Linked DNA regions of Homo sapiens: regions 1, 2 and 4 are each linked to region 3. Evidence: promoter capture Hi-C in 16 types of primary human blood cells and fetal thymus (Javierre and others, 2016). All regions are on one chromosome and are shown on one strand. Each heading gives the region's core, a stretch centred on a gene start or on the middle of the fragment in contact. The rest is flanking DNA. Distances are from core to core; before and after follow the strand shown. Region 1 holds the start of LOC101928372 (a long non-coding RNA gene). Region 2 has its middle 23 kb from the start of ITLN1. Region 3 holds the start of NHLH1 (nescient helix-loop-helix 1). Region 4 has its middle 32 kb from the start of F11R.

The links. The method cuts DNA at HindIII sites, captures the fragments that hold promoters and counts their contacts. A CHiCAGO score of 5 or more calls a contact.
Region 1: a fragment that was not itself captured here is called in contact with the fragment with the promoter of NHLH1 in region 3 in 2 of 17 cell types (total CD4 T cells and total B cells); the score reaches 5.9 in total CD4 T cells.
Region 2: a fragment that was not itself captured here is called in contact with the fragment with the promoter of NHLH1 in region 3 in 5 of 17 cell types (non-activated CD4 T cells, naive CD8 T cells, fetal thymus and 2 more); the score reaches 6.7 in non-activated CD4 T cells.
Region 4: a fragment that was not itself captured here is called in contact with the fragment with the promoter of NHLH1 in region 3 in 2 of 17 cell types (non-activated CD4 T cells and activated CD4 T cells); the score reaches 6.9 in non-activated CD4 T cells.

The regions. Positions count from the first base shown.
Region 1 is chr1:160,929,728-160,932,483 of GRCh38, reverse strand. LOC124904441 (a long non-coding RNA gene) reads left to right here. Exons shown (of 2, transcript XR_007066689.1): 2 at 307-838. LOC101928372 (a long non-coding RNA gene) reads right to left here and starts at 19. Exons shown (of 6, transcript NR_110695.1): 1 at 1-19. The HindIII fragment of the contact is 1,228 bases long and covers 648-1,875 here.
Region 2 is chr1:160,905,679-160,910,609 of GRCh38, reverse strand. No RefSeq gene overlaps it. Among named protein-coding and RNA genes, the nearest start is that of ITLN1, 23 kb to the right of the region's middle. The HindIII fragment of the contact is 675 bases long and covers 2,673-3,347 here.
Region 3 is chr1:160,365,091-160,369,925 of GRCh38, reverse strand. NHLH1 (nescient helix-loop-helix 1) reads right to left here and starts at 2,855. Exons shown (of 2, transcript NM_005598.4): 1 at 2,589-2,855. The HindIII fragment of the contact is 14,453 bases long and covers 1-4,835 here.
Region 4 is chr1:160,985,954-160,991,473 of GRCh38, reverse strand. No RefSeq gene overlaps it. Among named protein-coding and RNA genes, the nearest start is that of F11R, 32 kb to the left of the region's middle. RefSeq lists an enhancer at 1-333 and a silencer at 3,781-4,075. The HindIII fragment of the contact is 816 bases long and covers 3,714-4,529 here.

The DNA.
Region 1 (2,756 bases), core at 12-2,511, 560 kb before region 3:
CCCACTTAAAATTGGCCTAGATGAAAGCAGCAGGCTCACATGTTATATGTGTTGCTTTCAAAATCCAGAGACCAACCCTGACCCAGTATTGTTTTTCACCTTGGAAAGATCATTCTGACATAGAAAATTCACTGATATGGCATATTCTGCATATAGCCTGCCAATTCTTTGGTAATTCCCCCCACCCCACCAAATTTGGGCGGGCTTAGTGACTAAGTTTTCATGAAAAGAATATGGCAGAAGTGTGACCTCTGAGACTGCATCCTAAAAAATGATACAGCTTCTTCCTGGCTTTCTCTTTCTTAGGACTTGTGCCTTCGGATCCTGATTTATTAAGTGAGAAGTCCACTATCCTGAAGCTGCTATGCTGGAGAGACCATGTGAAAAGATCATATAGAAGTAGAAAGATGCCCAAGAAGCCATATATGCTTCTTTCTGTAGCTGTTTCAGTCTGCCCACCCAGGGATCGGACATGTTAGAGAAAGAGTCTTAAAGATTATCCCAACCCCAGCCACCATGTGACTGCAACCTCATGAAAACCCCACACCAGAACAGTGGTATCAGCTCAAACTTTGCAAGGGCTAGGAGACTGAGGGCAGCTGACCAGATTTATGTGATTGAGCCTAATAAACTGGCCTGAGTAAGCTTCCCTGGTTGACAATATTCTGCGAGTATTATCACACACTGGATGTCAGGAAATTAACACTGTCCACAACTCATGGAAAGGACAACTGGGAGTTCTGTGTTTAGAGCTTTCCTGAACTCTGCCCTATGTACCCCTTCCCTTGGCTGATTTTAACCTGTATTCTTAGCTGCAATAAACCGTAACTTTCCATGAGCACTGTGAGTTTGTCTTGTGAATTATTAAACTCACGGGTGGTCTTGGGGTCCCCCCAAGCTGACAATTAATGTCAGAGAGGAGGAGGATATTGGGGGACCCCAACCTTGCAATCGGTGTCAGAAGTGAGGGTGGTCTTGTGGGCTGCTCCTCTAACAATGTATCCAGCATAACCTTGATATGAAAATCTCACAAGAGTATCACAAGAAAAGATAATTATAAGCCAACCACCCTCATGACTGTATATGCAACAATTCTAAACAGGATATTAACAAACCTACATATGAATTTGAGAGGACATAAATGTTCAGATCATAGCATTGCTGAGCATTCTGTATGAATATAGACATAATTCAAGACCAAGACTGATGATTGCTATTGTGAGTTGAACTGTGTTCCCTAAAGTGGTATGTTAAAGTCCTAATCCAAGGTACCTGTGAATGTGACCTTATTTGGAAATGAGATTTTTGCAGATGCAACTATTTAAAATGCAGTTATAGTGGATTAGGGTGGGCCCTAATTCCAATATAACTAATATCCTTATAAGAAGAGAAGAGACACAGATGCAGAAACACACACAGATGGAAGGCAGCTGTATGAAGACGGAGGCAGAGAAGGGAGTTATGTGGCCACAAATCAATAAATACCAAGGATTGGCCAGGCATGGTGCCTCATACCTGTAATCCCAGTACTTTGGGAGGCTGAGGTGGGATGATTGCTTGAGCCCAGGAGTTTGAGACCAGCCTGGGCAAAAAATACAGTGAAACTCCATTTCTATCAAAACCAAAAGCAAACAAACAAAAAACCCAAGGATTGCTTTCTACCTGAAGCTGGATGAGGCAAGAGAAGATCCTCCTGCAGAGTCTTTGGACAGAGCACAGTCCTGCTGATGCCTTAATTTTGGACTTCTCACCTCTGAAATAGAGTAATTTCTTAAAAAGCCACCTAGGTTGTGACAATTTGTTATGGCAACCCTAGGAAACTGACACAATTGTGTCATTGTTTTTTTCTCTCTACTAGTTTTAAAATTGTAAGCTTTTTTTCTATCCTTTTAGTGGCTGCTCTAGAACTAACAGCAGGCTTCATGAATGTTTTCTAATCACAAATTTGTGTGTTTATTTCTTTTAAAAGCATTAATTGCGAGCCTATTATGTGCCAGAACATATTCTAGATGCTGGGGATATAGCAACAAGTCAGGTACACATTTCTGCCTTTCTGGAGATTGTACCCTAGTACCAGGAAATATACAATATGCTATAAAAATAAATAATAGAATGTCAAGTTTTTATTTATTTATTTATTTTTATTTTTTTAAACCAGGTCTCCTTATGTTGCCCAGCTGTTCTTGAACTCCTGGGCTCAAATGATCCCCCCGCTTCAGCCTCCCAAAGTGCTGGGATTACAGGCATGAGCCACCACACCCAGACTAGAATGTTAAGTTTGAAAAGTGCTATGGAGAAAAAGAAAGTTGAGTAGCGACATAGATATATTGGGGGTGGTGGTGGTTTACAACTTTAATAGATCTTTAAAGAAGACTTCAGTGAGAAGGTGACATTGAGGAAGGATCTGAAGAAGGTGAGGGATTGAGCCATAAAGTACCAGGCAGAGGGAATAGCAACTGCCAAGGTATTGAGATGGGAGTATCTTCACTGCGTTCAGGGAGCTGCAGGGAGATTTGGCTAGCAGAAGCTGCATAAGTATGGAGGAAAGCAGCAGGTCATGACAGCACAAAGGTAAGATGGGAGCAGATTGTGTAGGATATTGTGGGCCTTCTGGGCAAGACTAGAAGCCTTCAGAGAGGTCTGAGTAGGAGGGTAGCCTGATTTAACAGGATGACTTTGGCTGTGTTGAGGATATACTGAAGACTGCCAAGAGCAGAAGCAGAGAGACCAATGAGGAGACTTGCAGCCAGCCAGGG
Region 2 (4,931 bases), core at 1,761-4,260, 540 kb before region 3:
CATGTGGTTTGCTACCAAGGCTGTGTGAATAGATTGTGTCAGAGAAACAGCTGTAGTAGCGGCAGTTGCTAGTATTGAGAAGTGAAGCCAGCTGGGCTTCTGGGTCCTGTTGGGACTTGGAGAACTTTTCTGTCTAGATAAAGGATTGTAAACACACCAATCAGTGCTCTGTGTCTAGCTAAAGGTTTGTAAATGTACCAATCAGCACTCTGTAAAATGGACCAATCAGCAGGAGGTGGGTGGGGCCAAATAAGGGAATAAACGCTGGCCACTAGAGCCAGCAGCCGCAACCCCATTGGGTCCTGTTCCACTGTGTGGAAGTGTTCTTTCCCTCTTCACAATACATATTGCTGCTGCTCACTCTTTGGGTCCACACTATCTTTATTAGCTGTAACACTCACCACGAGGGTCTGCGGCTTCACTCCTGAGGTCAGTGAGACCACGAACCCACCGGGAGGAACAGACAACTCGATGTGCCACCTTTAAGAGCTGTAACACTCACTGTGAAGGTCTGCAGCTTCACTCCTGAAGTTAGCCAGACCACGAACCCAACGGAAGGAAGAAACTCCGAACACATCTGAACATCTGAAGGGATAAACTCTGGACACACCATCTTTAAGAACTGTAGCACTCACTACGAGGGTCTGTGGCTTCACTCCTGAAGTCAGCGAGACCAAGAACCCACCAGAAGGAAACAGTTCCGGACACAGTATAATAATAGCTGAGACAAAAAAGGCAATTAAAGTGGCCAAAAATCTTTTTTTTGAGTATGAGATAGTGCTTTTCTAAATAACCGTAGGGTTAAATTTACAGGGAGCCACAATTCTACATGCCATTTTAGGATCATGCCATAGGTTATATTTAACTATGTAACATTTTGATGAGACAAGCATGTAGCGTACCAACTACTGGAAGAGAAAGTAATACTATATAAGGATTGATTCTGTTCTATGTTAGGAATACCCTGCCCAGACAAAATTATCTAGGGGTGTGTAGTACAAATCAGGACTGTATCAGTAACATTATTGTGCAAGGAGAGGGTATAGTTGCCACTGCTGTAAATGTAATCACCATACAAAACAACGCATTCAAAAAAGGGAAGACCTAGTCTCCAAATTTGGGTATGAGCAGGGCTTAAAGCTTGCTTCCCTTTTAGTTGTAATATTGGTCCTGAAAGCCCATACTCTGACCAGGTGATGGAACTATTGGAGGACTCCCAAATCCAATAGTCTGATTTGCAGACATAAGATTAGCATGGGGACCCCAATCAAGTAAGGTGCCATTATTAAGCAGAGGCCCTTGTCGTGGCGCAGGTTGTCTGCATGGGGTTCACACTGGACAGCCTCAAACTTACATTGCCAGTCCCTTCTCAGACAGCATATAAGAAGACTAGGCACTTGTGTAGCTTCATTAGAGACCTTAGTGAGATTAATGGTAACAGCAGAAATAAAGGTCAAGTTTGCGGGCTTGGCATCCCTTTTGAGGTGACAGTAAAGATACTCCAGAGGAATAAGAGTAATGTGCTTATCATGGGCTATTGTAGAAAAACAAAGAAGGGGGTTGCTAGACAATAAAGTCAAGGAGTCATTGAGTTTAATCCATCCCAAATTTTCAGTTAAGGGGTAAGACAGGGGCATCCATCGACCTCCCATCCAAGAAGTATCATTAGATGACAAAGGCGGGTCAGCATCCCACCACATAATAACATTTCCAACAGTGGGATTCAGAATATGATTCCAGTAAACATGTTCTTGAGCTGATCCCACTTGGCAAAGGATGAGAATCACCAGCCACCCCAGCATCCATGTCTGTCTTACTTTCTCAAAAGCTCCCCCAATTACTGCCAGATACATAAGAAACCAATTCTCTGCAATTGCAGGGGCTCCCATGGCAACAAGCTGGATAGTTGCCTGTTGATCCAATTTCTTTAGCTGCCCTCAGGTAATGTCAGATGCCTTCCGAGTCATCGCTATCATTGCTGGTCGATTCTCCAACGACAGGTCTTTCATCATCAGGAGGGGTTCAGTTGTCTCCTACCTGTTCTCGAGGAGAAAGCCCAATATTCCCCCTTTTTTGTTTGTTAAGATATACTTTAAGAGTTTGATGAGCTCGCTCAACATTGGCCTGACTGGTTGAGTTATAAGGAATGCCAGTCTTGTGTTGTATGTGCCACAGTTGTAAATGCATATGTAAATCGAGCACTAAGACAGCAATGTCTATTATCAGTTTTTGTAATTTGTGGAAGGCCTAAAGTCATAATAGATTTAAAAAGATGAGCAATTGCATCTTTAGTTTTTTCTGTAGTCTGAGGAGTAGCATATTTCAGGCCTGTATAAGTGTCTACAGTAACGTGGAGAAATTTGAAGCATCTAAAGGGTGGATGCTGAGTAATATCAGTTTGCCAGATAGCATTAGGCACCAGACCTCGTGGGTTGGCACCAAGTCCTAACGAAAAAGGGGAGAGCGAATGCCATTGGCAGTCAGGACAGGTTTTAATAATCATGCGAGCTTGAGTGAGCGCCAAATAAAACTGTTGTTTAAGACTGTGGTTGTTCTGATAAAAAAAGGAATGATCAGCTTGAGCTTGCAAAAATGTAGGAGATTCTGTAAACCACGGAGCTTAGTGTTAATATGTGACTTTAGACAACAATGTTTTTATATTTTAGGAAGCTTGAAGCTAACAATATATTAAGACAATGATCTCTTTATAATTTACAATAAATAAAGTGAAAGTTTGTATTTTATATTGTTTAAAACATAAGAAGATTTTATTTGAAAAGACTTTTAAAAAAATATGAAGGCTTTCTCTTAGGGTAAGAATTATGTAATTATGTTGCCCAAGTAATACAGTGATGGAAACAAGACAATATTTTATCTTTCTTTTCTTCAGTTGAATGCTAATAGACAATAGTTTTTTGCTTAGCTAGGAGCTTAAATACTGTTTGGGAGAAGTGGGATATTTATTAGTGGGTTGCAGGGAATAAATGAAATCACCTTAGTAGAGGATGCTGCTATACTTTTATCAATGTCCACTGACATTGGTTTGAAAGTGGAAATCTTTTGTGTAAAGGCCTGGGGATTTTTTGCCTATATCTTAAGTATATCTCTGGGCTGGCAGCCCCTTAATATACTCAGAAAAGTAAAATATAGGTTACAAGATACTTTAAAAATTTATTTTGACTAGTGAGTTTGTTTCTAGTTGATTCACCTAATTAGAGATGTTACAAATCATTTTATATGATTGAACACATGTGAGTGTTGTTTTCCTGGAGACTGGGTTTCATTACAAGCATTCTGATTTGGGCCCCATTGAAGTTTTTCTTTCTCTAGCCCTTCTAAACTAAGCTTTTTAGAACTCACTCACAAGTTGTATGAATTTTGACAGACTTTTATTTTATCTTCTGATTTATTCCGTGTGCAGTGGATTTGAATAGCAGAGTTTTTTTATAGCTCTGCTGATGTGATGTTGGTCACTACGTGCAGCTTGCAATCAGTTGATAAATTCAACGTATGTTTCTGTGGCACTCTGTTTAACTGTTATAAAGGAATGTTTCTGTGGCACTCTGTTTAACTGTTATAAAGGAACCCTGGGATTGTCCCGTGGGTATCCTCTTCTATGCCTGTATTGCTAGCTGCAAGCATTGTGGAAATAGATGGCTGTTTATTTGAGCTTGAGCCTGAGCTCAAGCAAAAGGACCTGGTCCCAATAGCATATCAAGCTGTGTTGGGATATTATTATCCAAATTTTGCAAGGGCTGCTGCATGGATAGATCACTGTACTCACTCCACCGCACAGTATATTCTGCAGCTGAAACCAAAACTTTTACTAAAGTTTTCCAATCATGCGGAGTCATCTTATAGCCATTTCCCAGAGCCTCAATCATCCCCTGGGTAAAGGGTGAATGTACACCATTTTCACAGATACTTTTCTTTATCTCTTTAAAAACAGTAAAAGGCAAACTCTCATGCCGTCTCCTATCATTTTGAACAATGACAGGGAATGCGCCAAAAAGTGCCTAAGAGTCTCCCTTTTTAAGTCCCTCCTGGAGGCACCCCTCTACTAGGGAAGTTTGATGAGGAGTCGTCACTGAGAACGCGTTCACCTGATCATATATGTCAGGCCTCTGAGCCCAAGCTAAGCCAACATATCCCCTGTGACCTGCACGTATACATCCAGATGGCCTGAAGCAACTGAAGATCCACAAAAGAAGTGAAAATAGGCTAAACTGATGGCATTCCACCATTGTGATTTGTTCCTGCCCCACCCTAACTGATATGATATATTCTCCCCTGCCCTTAGGAAGGTACTTTGTAATATTCTCCCCGCCCTTGGGAATGTACTTTGTATGCCTATCCCAAACCTATAAGAACTAATGATAATCCCACCACCTTTTGCTGACTCTCTTTTCAGACTCAGCCCGCCTGCACCCAGGTGATTAAAAAGCTTTATTGCTCACATAAGCCTGTTTGGTGGTCTCTTCACACGGACGTGCGTGACAATATAGATGTTCACTGACAGGGGGTCTTATCCAAGAACCGTCCATCCCTTGGGTGGCCTCCAATCTCCTCCAGGGGGATGGGAGGCACTGTAGCCTGAACAGGGCCAATAGATGTGGATTTTTTTAGGGGTGGAGGAAAGGAGGGCAATGGCTTTTCTATTGGGGGAGGAAAAAGCTCCGGTCTGTCCTCATCATCACTAGAAAGTGTCCTCCTTATGCCCTACGGAAGGGAATGAAGTAGGGAGAGGAGCCCCTCCCTGTTGTTCTGGTTCCTGTTTTTCTTTAAATCTCCTGAATTCCCTTCAGGTGGAGCTAATGGGCAGTCTGACTCACCGCAATCTGGCATATAAAGAGGGTACAATGCAGAGCGTACCAGGGCCCAGGTGGTCAAAATGATAACCTTAGTAAAATGGCCCTGCCTAAATCCTGTTT
Region 3 (4,835 bases), core at 1,606-4,105:
GCGTGAAATGAGAAATTACAGAATGGGTACCGTGTATGTTATTCAGGTGATGGACATCCTAAGAGCCCTGACTTGACCATTATGCAATCTATGCATGTAACAAAATTGCACTTGTACCCCATAAATTTATATAAATAAACATTTTTTAAGAAAAAAATGGGTAAAGGACTAGAATACACATTTCTCCAAAGATTTTATACAAATGGCCAACAAGCATATGAAAAAATGTTCAACATCACTAATCATTAAAATGCAAATCAAACCCACTATGAAATATCACTTCATACCCATTAGGATGGCTACTATAAAAACAAAAACCAAACAAACAAAAAATAAGTCTTGGCAAGGATGTGGAGAAATTGGAACCCTTATGCCTTGTTGGGATTGCAAAATGATGCAACCACTATGGAAAACAGTATAAATGTTCCTCAAAAAATAAAAAATAGAACTACCATATGCTCCAGGAATCCTACCTCTGGGTATATATACAAATAAAGTAGGGTGTCAAAGAGATATTTGCACACTCATGTTCATAGCAGCACTATTCACAATAGCCAAGAGGTAGAAGCAACCCAAATGTCCATCAATAGACAACAGATAAACAAAATGTATTATATACATACAGTGGAATATTATTCAGCCCTAAAAAGGAAGTTCTGTCACATGCTACAGCATGAATGAACCTTGAGGATATGATGATAAGTGAAATAAACCAGTAACAACACAAATACTGTATAGCTCCACTTATATGAGGTATTTAAAGTAGTCTAATTCATAGAAACAGAAAGTAGAATGGCCGTTGCCAGGGGCTGGAGGGAGGGGGTAAAGGGGAGTTGTTGTTTAGTGGGTATAGAATTATACATTTGCAGGATGAAAAATTGCTAGAGATCTGTTTCACAACAATGTGAATATACTGAACACTACTGAATTGTACACTTAAAAATGGTTAAGATTATAAATTGTATGCTGTTTTTTATCTAAATGAATAAATAAAAGGAGGAAAAAATCTGAGCAAGACTGCAGCCACAGCCCCAAGAGAAGTTAGCTATGACTCTAGATGCTTCCCAGTTGTGAGGGGAGAATACAAGCCTTGGCCCTGTGGTCCCCTCCCTCTCAGGGCCCCTCTCCACCCTTGCTGCCTGAGGTGGAGGAGCGGATAAACACACAGATTGCCCATTGTAGAATAGACTAGGACATATGGAGCTCTGCGCAGCTGCCCCAGCTCTGCACAGCTCCCCTCCCAGTTCCCCAAACCTTCCCAGCAGAACCATTGTAGATATGAGATCCTGTCCACTAAAACCAGGGGAAGATATCTCTTCTCACCACCACCCCACTGTGCACAACCAGCCTCTTCCTCCACCTCTGTCTTCGAAATTTTCAGCCCTTGCCATTCCCTGGCCCTTTTGGAGGCTGGGCAAGGAAGATTGGGGAAAGGGAACATAATCAACCTTCTACCCCCATACTCTCCCATAGCCCAAGGAAGGTTCAGACACGGCCTGCAGAGGACACAGACAGATTTTTGGAGCTACCCTTATGGGACTCAGCTAAGGTTTGCTTGTCCTAGGACCAGAGGAGATCAGGGCAAGGCAGCACAAACATGGCCTGGGAAAAGCTGGGGAAAGGGCTTTGCTTGTGTGCAGTGTTAAAGGGGAACAGTGGGCCACTCACCATCAGCTCAACTAAGAATGATTAGAAACAGAAGCACCAAGGTGCCTGCACCATCACTATCTCCCCTTCCTCCCCAGCCCTGGCTTTCCTGTCTGATAGATACTCTCAAAGGGGTTAGGATCCTCCCAAGCCTTGCCCCACCCCACCACACAGAAGATAGGTTCAAGTCAAGCCAACAAACAGCTATGAAGCTCTGGAGGGATGCAAAGTCATCCACATCTGATGACAAGTACACACACAATCTTAACAGGAAACAGAAGGTGGTTAGTGCTGAAATTGAGAACACATTCCATATTCTGGGGTTCAAATGAACTATGGGGGGATGGCAATAGTGTGGGAGGCCCCAAAGTCAGCACCTCCCAGTACATGTTTAGTGCCCCCAACTCCCCACCCCCCATGCTGGGGCTGGGAGCAGGAGTTCAGCTGCGGAGTTCCCAACACATTTATCACATCTATCACAGGCTAATTCTCTCTGCCCGGTCCCTATGTTCCTTCATCCCTCATCACTTTGCCATGCCCTTCCTTCCCCTCTCCGTGCTCCCCATCTGGCCCCAGTCTCATCTCCACCTGGCCCCATTGTCCTCCCCAGTTCCAGTCCCGGCAGCAGCTTCTATTTACCCATCAAGTCCTCACCCCCAAATCCACTTCTGGTCTCAAAGTTCCAGGGTCCAAGGATCAGGGGAGCAGCAATTCCAAGCCTGCAGGACAGGACTTCCCACCCCACTTCTGCCAGCCCTAACCCAACTGAGGATAGATAGGCACAAAGAGTCGAAGGGGAGGAGTGGAGAAGAGGGACACGCGGAGACAGGGAGAGACACAGCGCACAAGGGAGAGAACTAGAGGGAGGCTCTAGGAAGGGGCTTGAGCCAGAGAATGGGAGGGACACGCCCATCCCTCCCCGCCCATGGTTTCCCCTTTACCTAGAAGGACCCTGTCAGGGGATCCAAGCCGGCAGGACAAGGGGCAGCGTTGACAGCCCCAGTCTCCTCTGGGTGCTCAAGGCTCATCCGTCTGCAAAGTTAGTGACCAGCTTTCTAGACTCTCAGGGGTAGCGTGGCATGGCTGTACAGGCTCCAGGGCAGATAAGAGGGGTACACATTGTGGGGGTGTAGGGCCCAGGTGGAAGTGGTGGGCTTGGCCAGGTACTGGGGCCAGCCACACTCACACACACACCCTCAGACACACACACCTGAGCTGGCCCAGCCCTATGTATATATATGGAGATACACACACACACCCCCAGCTCTCCATTGGCTGGCCCAGGCCCACCCCCCCCTCATCAATATTAAACAGCCAGGCCAGGCAGCCATTGGCAGAGGGATCTGGGAACCCCTCGGGAGCTGGGGGCGGGGGCTGGCCCTGGGTGGGGGCGGGGAGCGGGGGAGCAGGGACATCTGTTCTCCATGCATATTTCATAAGCAAGAAATGGAGAGCTGGGGAAGGGGTGGGGCTGGGGCGAGAGCCAGGGCAGGACCACAGATGAACCCCCTCAGTCTCCCACACCAGAGGCAGCAGGGCAGAGGCTCCCAGCAAGCTATGGTTAAGTGCCATGGCCCCATTCGGAGTCCCAGCGTGACTTGGACAGCCCCTTCCTGGTGTCTCTTTTTTCCTGAGAGGGAGACTCTTCAAGGTACTAACAGGGAAACCGAGAAAAGAGCAAGTGGGTAGCACTAAAATGCAGAAGAGGACCCTAGGGTCCTGGCCCTCAAGCTCTTATCCTTCATAAAGCTGGTACCCACTGCTTGCCAGCCTGCCTGTAGCAACTGTTCAGGCCCCTACCCTCATCACCCTGGGACTCAATCACCCCCATACCCTCTTACCCCACCCGCTATCTTCCTACCTAACCCATCACCAAGGGGAGGAGCAGGATCAAATTTGGGACACAGACCCCACAAGGAGTTTTTCTAGGCTGGCCAGCCCAACCTGACCCACTGGGAATTAGAGGGCTCTTAGGAAGAAAGAGGTAAGGGCTAAAAGGAGAGGAGTGGAGGAGTGCCAAGACAGGAAGAACCAGGATTGGAAGGACACTGGGAGAGGAGGGCAGGGCAGCCTAGGCAGGCTCTGAGTGTGTTTTGAGGGCATCAAATCAGCAATAAGAAAACCAGACACAAAATTATATGCAAATGGGCACTGATTAAGCTCCCATCAATAGCTCAGCAGCCTCCAGCATGTATATGCAAGTGTGTGTGAATGTGAATGTAAGTGTGAGTGTGTGTGTGTATGTGTGTGTTGCCGAGTGGCAGGATTGAGGAGGGGCAGCACAGGGACCAGAGTGCATAGAGAGACAGTGCATAGAGGGTTTCAGTGTCTGAAGTTCTCTCCCCACTCAGCTGTTGGATGTCTTCTCTGAACCTTTGAGAGTATTCAAAAGAACCATGACTGGAGAGGACTCCAGAGGTAGTGTGGTACAGTGAAAAAGGCTCTGTCAGCTGTGTGACCTTGGACAAATAACAACCTTTTGAGCCTGGACCTCTTTTCCTGTAAAATGGGGTTGATTATAGCTGCTTCTTAGGTTGCCATGGAAATTAAGGGAGATAATATGTGTAGTGGGCCTAGAGCTTAGTAGGAGCACATCCCACCTTCAGGCTGGAGGGACTTGCCATTTCCCTGTTGCTGGTCAACCTTTTCTGGGCTTTCTCCAGGGTGAAGCATTCCCTAAGGGGGTCCCATAATTCCTCCCCAAGCTCCCCCACCTGCCCCCATCCCTGAGTCTGGGAGGTGCCAACTCCCACCTGGGCAGGCCCAGACAGGTGCCCAGGCGCCAGCAGATGGGCTGAGCTGGAGGGGAAAGGAGGCTTGAGGAGGGGGGCTGGGGGGCAGGGGATCAGGTGGCATCTCAGTTCTTGCATCATCATTGCCATGGTGCTGATTAAAAACCAATCTCCACCTAATGAGCCCCCAGCAACAACAATTCTACCTCCTCCACTCTCCTGCCCTCCACCCCATCCAAGAAATTGGGAGACCAAGAGACTCAGGAGAGAGTGCCATGGGGGAGATGAGAGATACAGAAAGAAGGGGAGATGAACAGAGACAGGGGAAGCGGAGGGAAACGACGAGAAAGACACGGGAAGATACCGAGACTCAGGGAGAGAAAAAAATGAGAAACCAGAGTCATTGGGTAACAGACATGGGAAAGACATAGGGAAATGGGAAGACACAGTCTCATG
Region 4 (5,520 bases), core at 2,872-5,371, 620 kb before region 3:
ACGGGGTTTCACCGTGTTAGCCAGGATAGTCTCGATCTCCTGACCTCGTGATCCACCCGCCTCGGCTTCCCAAAGTGCTGGGATTACAGGTGTGTGCCACCACACCCGCCGCGTCATTTGTTTTTCAACGCAGACTTATAAAATGCAGATTACTTTGGTCGTGGTCTGTAACATCCCCAGGGAGAAAGGAATGCAGAAGGCAGAGTGGTTAGGAGCAGCCACAAAAGAATGAGGAATGAAGAAAAAGGGGTGAATGAGAAACCAATGAGAAGTGTTGGGAGATGCCATGTAACTGGTGGGGATACCCATACCCATTTTAGAACAACTTTTTTTTTTTTTTTTTTGAGACAGGGTCTCACTCTCTTGCCCAGACTGGAGTGCAGTGGCCAGACCTCGGCTCACCACAACCTCTGCCTCCCAGGCTCAAGCGATTCTCTTGCCTCAGCCTCCCGAGTAGCTGGGATTACAGGCACGTGCTACTACTGCCCAGCTAATTTTTGTATTTTTAGCACAGGGTTTCACCATGTTGGCCAGGCTGGTCTCGAACTCCTGGCCTCAAGTGATCCACCTGCCTTGGCCTCCTAAAGTGCTGGGATTACAGGCATGAGTCATTCAGGCCGGCCCTGAATTTTTCAAAGTTGCCACCACCAACACTTTGTTCTTAGTGTGTGGACAGTAGAGCAGGTTGAAGGGCCAAAAAACAAACAAGCAAGCAAGCAAACAAACAAACCAACAAACCAGCCTCATTTCCTTGTCTCTGGTATGTTGAGAAAGTGGACCCTAGAGTTCAGTACCACTCCTCCTACCTTTGAGCCCAACTCATGATTTAAGATGTTGAAGTGCCCAATAAGGACCACATGGAAGCCTCCCTCAAAGAGTGTGGCACATGCTGCAACCCATAGGAAAGGGATTAGAATGCAGGTTTTTTTTCCATTTAGGGAGGAAGGAGCAGGAAATTTAGTAGGTAAGTAAAAGTAAGTACAAAGGCACAGCTACGAAGAAAAGGTACTTTTTCTGCAACTAGATATGCTACCACTAGGTGGAGCCAGACTCTCCTGGCATGGAACTTTTTTTTTTTTTTTTTTTTGACACGGAGTCTCGCCCTTGTCGCCCAGGCTGGAGTGCTGTGGCGCGATCTCGGCTCACTGCAACCTCCACCTCCCGAGTTCAAACAATTCTTCTGCCTCAGCCTCTCGAGTAGCTGGAATTACACGCGCCCGCCACCACACCTGGCTAAATTTTTTTGTAGTTTTAGTAGAGACGGGGTTTCACCATGTTGGCCAGGCTGGTTTTGAACTCCTGACCTCAAGTGATCCGCCCGCGTCGGCCTTCCAAAGTGCTAGGATTACAGGCGTGAGCCACCACGCCCAGTCTGACATGGAACTTCTAAACAGTGATGCTACGTAACAGGCCTGGTTCGCTGGAGATAAGTAAGAGGGGATAAAAATAGTTAACCTTACCTATCTGATTGGCAAAAATTCAAAAGCTTGATAGGGAGTCTATCTGAGCCTGGGCAGGTTCTGGAAGCTGCCCAATTTAAAAAAAACAATGGCGCCTGGTGCGGCGGCTCACGCCTGTAATCTCAGCACTTTGGGAGGCCGAGGCAGGTGGATCACGAGGTTAGGAGTTCAAGACCAGCCTGACCAACATGGTAAAACCCCGTTTCTACCAAAAATACAAAAATTAGCTGGGCGTGGTGGCACGCGCCTGTAATCCCAGCTACTGAGGAGGCTGAGGCAGGACAATCGCGTGAACCCAGGAGGCGGAGGTTTCAGTGAGCCGAGATCACGCCACTGCACTCCAGCCTGGGCAACAGAGCAAGTCTCCGTCTCAAAAAAAAAAAAAAAAAAAAAAAGGAAAATAAAAGACAAATGGCTGGGCATGGTGGCTCACACCTATAATCCAAGCACTTTGGAAGGCTGAGGTGGAAGGATTGCTTGGGGCCAAGAGTTTGAGACTAGCCTGGGCAACAAAGTGAGACCCTGTCTCTATGAGAAAATTAAAAAAAAAAAGGCCACCTTTTTGATACGAAAGGAGGGGAAATAAGAAAGCATACTATATTTGCTTATTTTTGCAGAAACAAACACAGGAAGGAAAATAAACTAAATTGGTTATTTCAAGAGGTAGATAAGGTCTAGATGAAATAGATACATGATCGGCCGGGCGCGGTGGCTCACACCTGTAATCCCAGGACTTTGGGAGACTGAGGCGGGCGGATCACGAGGTCAGGAGATCGAGACCATCCTGGCTAACACGGTGAAACCCAGTCTCTACTGAAAATACAAAAAATTGGCCGGGCGTGGTGGTGGGCACCTGTAGTCCCAGCGACTTGGGAGGCTGAGGCAGGAGAATGGTGTGAACCCCAGAGGCGGAGCTTGCAGTGAGCCCAGATCGCGCCACTGCACTCTAGCCTGGGCGACAGAGCGAGACTCTGTCTCAAAAAAATAAAAATAAAAATAGATACATGATGGAGTATTACTTCTCTGAGTTTATTTACCATTTTGTCTAGTTTTGACTTCTGGATCCATGTTAATGTTTTGCACATTAAAAAAAGTTGACAAGAAAAAATATGCAGAACATGCTTGTCCTCAGGCTTGTCAGAGACTCCTATAACCATATAAAGAAGCTGAGGGTTGATCATGCTTGAGCTATGATACTTATTAAAATAGTACTAGAAAGACAAATAGAATGTAGCATGGCAAAAGAGCTGCACATTTTGGGAGAAGGCATTTATTTGTAGGGGCTGAAATGTGCTAGCTCGAGAATCAGACCTAAGAATTACAAGGTGATTAACCAAAGGAAAAAGTCTCTGGAAGTAGAAAACTAAAAAGAAGGTTTGGAACAGGCTGGAAGTGAGATTGAAGCATATCACAGAAATGTTAGACATTCTTCAATGTCAGTGCCTTGGATGAATTTATAAGGCTTTGCCTTAAAGTTACTTGTGGGCTTATAAAGCCTGTGTCAAAGCTAAACAAAGCCAGACAATAGTTTAGACAAGAAGTAAGGATAGGTATTTATTTATTTATTTGAGATGGAGTTTCACTCTTGTCGCCCAGGCTGGAGGGTAATGGCGCGATCTTGGCTCACCGCAACCTCCGTGTCCGGGGTTCAAGCGATTCTCCTGCCTCAGCCTCCTGAATAGCTGGGATTACAGGCATGCACCACCACGCCCGGCTAATTTTTTTGTATTTTTAGTGGAGACAGCGTTTCTCCATGTTGGTCAGGCTGGTTTTGAACTTTTGACCCCAGGTGATCTGCCCACCTCGGCCTCCCAAAGTGTTGGGATTACAGGCGTGAGCCACTGCACCCGGCCTAGGATAGGTTTTTTTAAGTAGTAACTATTGCAGTAGGGAAGAGGGCCCAAGGTGAACTGAACTTAACTTCCTTAAAAAAAAAAAAAATGCAGGAGGCCTTTTGAAGGCTGGGATGTGCTAAGGGATAGGCATGAAGATATTAAGGAGAATTGCTCCATGTGACTAGACAATCTGGATTTGTGAATTGGCTCTTGTCCAGAAGAGAAATAAGCACCTATTTTTACGACAGGAGCTAGTAGTGCAAGTTAGAGCAAGGCACCCACCTGGTTGGGAGCTGGAGCAAGATTTATTTCCTCAAATGTTTGCATTTCAAAGAAACTCTCAGGTCCCAGTGAAAATAGCTCTGGGTAGAAGATTTACATCTCAAAGAGGCAGAGAAAGATGTTTTAATTGCAAGCTTTCTTTCTAAGTAATTGCACTAAGATGAAGTTCAGGGGCCTGTGTCTATTGCTAGGTTTGGGCTGGGATGCACAGTAAATTTTTCTGACAGCGATGAGCTTTTTCAGGCAGGCATTTTAAGCGGGGGGCTGAGGTCCTCCTAGGGACAAGGCCTTAAGTTGCTAGAAGCCATGCTAGAGCTTGGTTAAGGAGAGTCTTTGTTACCTGGCGTCTCTCTGCAGTGCCGTTTCAATGCCTTAGAGCAAGAGAGTGGTGGATGGACAGTGATAGTGATTCACGTGCGCAATTCACAACTTGCATTAGCAACCAGGCAAAAGCAAGTGCTGCTTTTAGAGGCCTTGGGAAGAATTTCCACAAGTTTCCGGCCATTGGGATACAGGGGAAAAGGGATTGGAGGGAGGCTCATCGGGAACAATACATTAGGTAATGTTGGGGTTTATAAATCGATACCCCCAAATATAGTACTGAACCGAAGAAGCAACCTGAAGATCTCTCTGACCTTCCCCGCTCCACACGGTCTCTCCCAAAAAGCTGAAGTTCCTTTATTTGCCTAAGATCCAGACCCTCCAAGGAGAACAGTAGGTTTCTTTTCCTCCTGTAAGACCAAAAATGTAACCACACCTGAACAGACCTTTTCATGAGTTAATGCCTGCTTCTCATGGTCATCTAAATTCCAAAGAAAACTATTTACAAGTTAATTTGTTTCCTGATCAAATCATTCTCTTTAGTAATCATTTATTGCCCATCAACAGAATTCCTTTTCTCCCGCAGGATCCAAACTCATTCTTTCTGTAACCTCATGATGGCGTATAAGCTTTTGCACCTCACTGGGAGGTTGGGTCTTCATTCTGAAGGCTTCTATGTATACATATTAAATAAGTTTGTATGCCTTTTTTCCTATTAATCTGCCTTGCGTCAGTGATTTTCAGCAAACTTCAGGGAGCCAAAGGCCTTGGCTCCCACAGTGATAATAAACAATATGACTTTTGGCTATCAAAATTCCTGCTGTTAGTTAAGGAAAAATTGTGACAGTTTCTGAAATGGACAAATACAGGCATCCTTCCAGTGGATTACTAGGATTTGTCTAGACTAGAGGACAGGATGCTTCTGGGGGTTTTCTGATTCTCTACAGGTCAGTATCCTTCCTTGTCTTGTACTGTTTTGCAACTCTAGAAAGAAAAGTTAAATATGTAGAAGCCTGACAGTGATACAAATGATCCCTGTTCATATTAATACAAATGCAAATTGTTTGCCTGGTAGAGATACAATTGATTTTCTCTCTGTAGAAAAAAAGATGATCCCAGCCAGGCGTGGTGGCTCACCCTGCAATTCCAGCACTTTGGGAGGCCGAGACAGGCAAATCACAAGGTCAGGAGTTCGAGACCAGCCTGGCCAATATGGTGAAACCCTGTCTCTACTAAAAATACAAAAATTAGCCAGGCGTGGTGGTGGGCGCCTGTAATCCCAGCTACTCTGGAGGGTGAGGCAGGAGAATTGCTTGAATCTGGGAGGCGGAGTTTGCAGTGAGCTGAGTCCTCGCCATTGCATTCCAGCTTGGGCAACAGAGTGAGATTACATCTCAAAAAAAAAAAAAAAAAAAAAAGAATCCCAGAAATTAAATGTTTTATATTTTTGCCACAAGAAAACACGTGCAAGTATGAAACTTTTTGTAAGGTCCTCTGAGCTGGCTGCACTATGGTCAAGCCACGGTGACATTCCCCCACCCTTGTGATAATGTACTTTGTGATACTCCTGTCCTTGTGAATGTACTTTGTAACATTCCTCCCCACCCTTGTGACAATACATC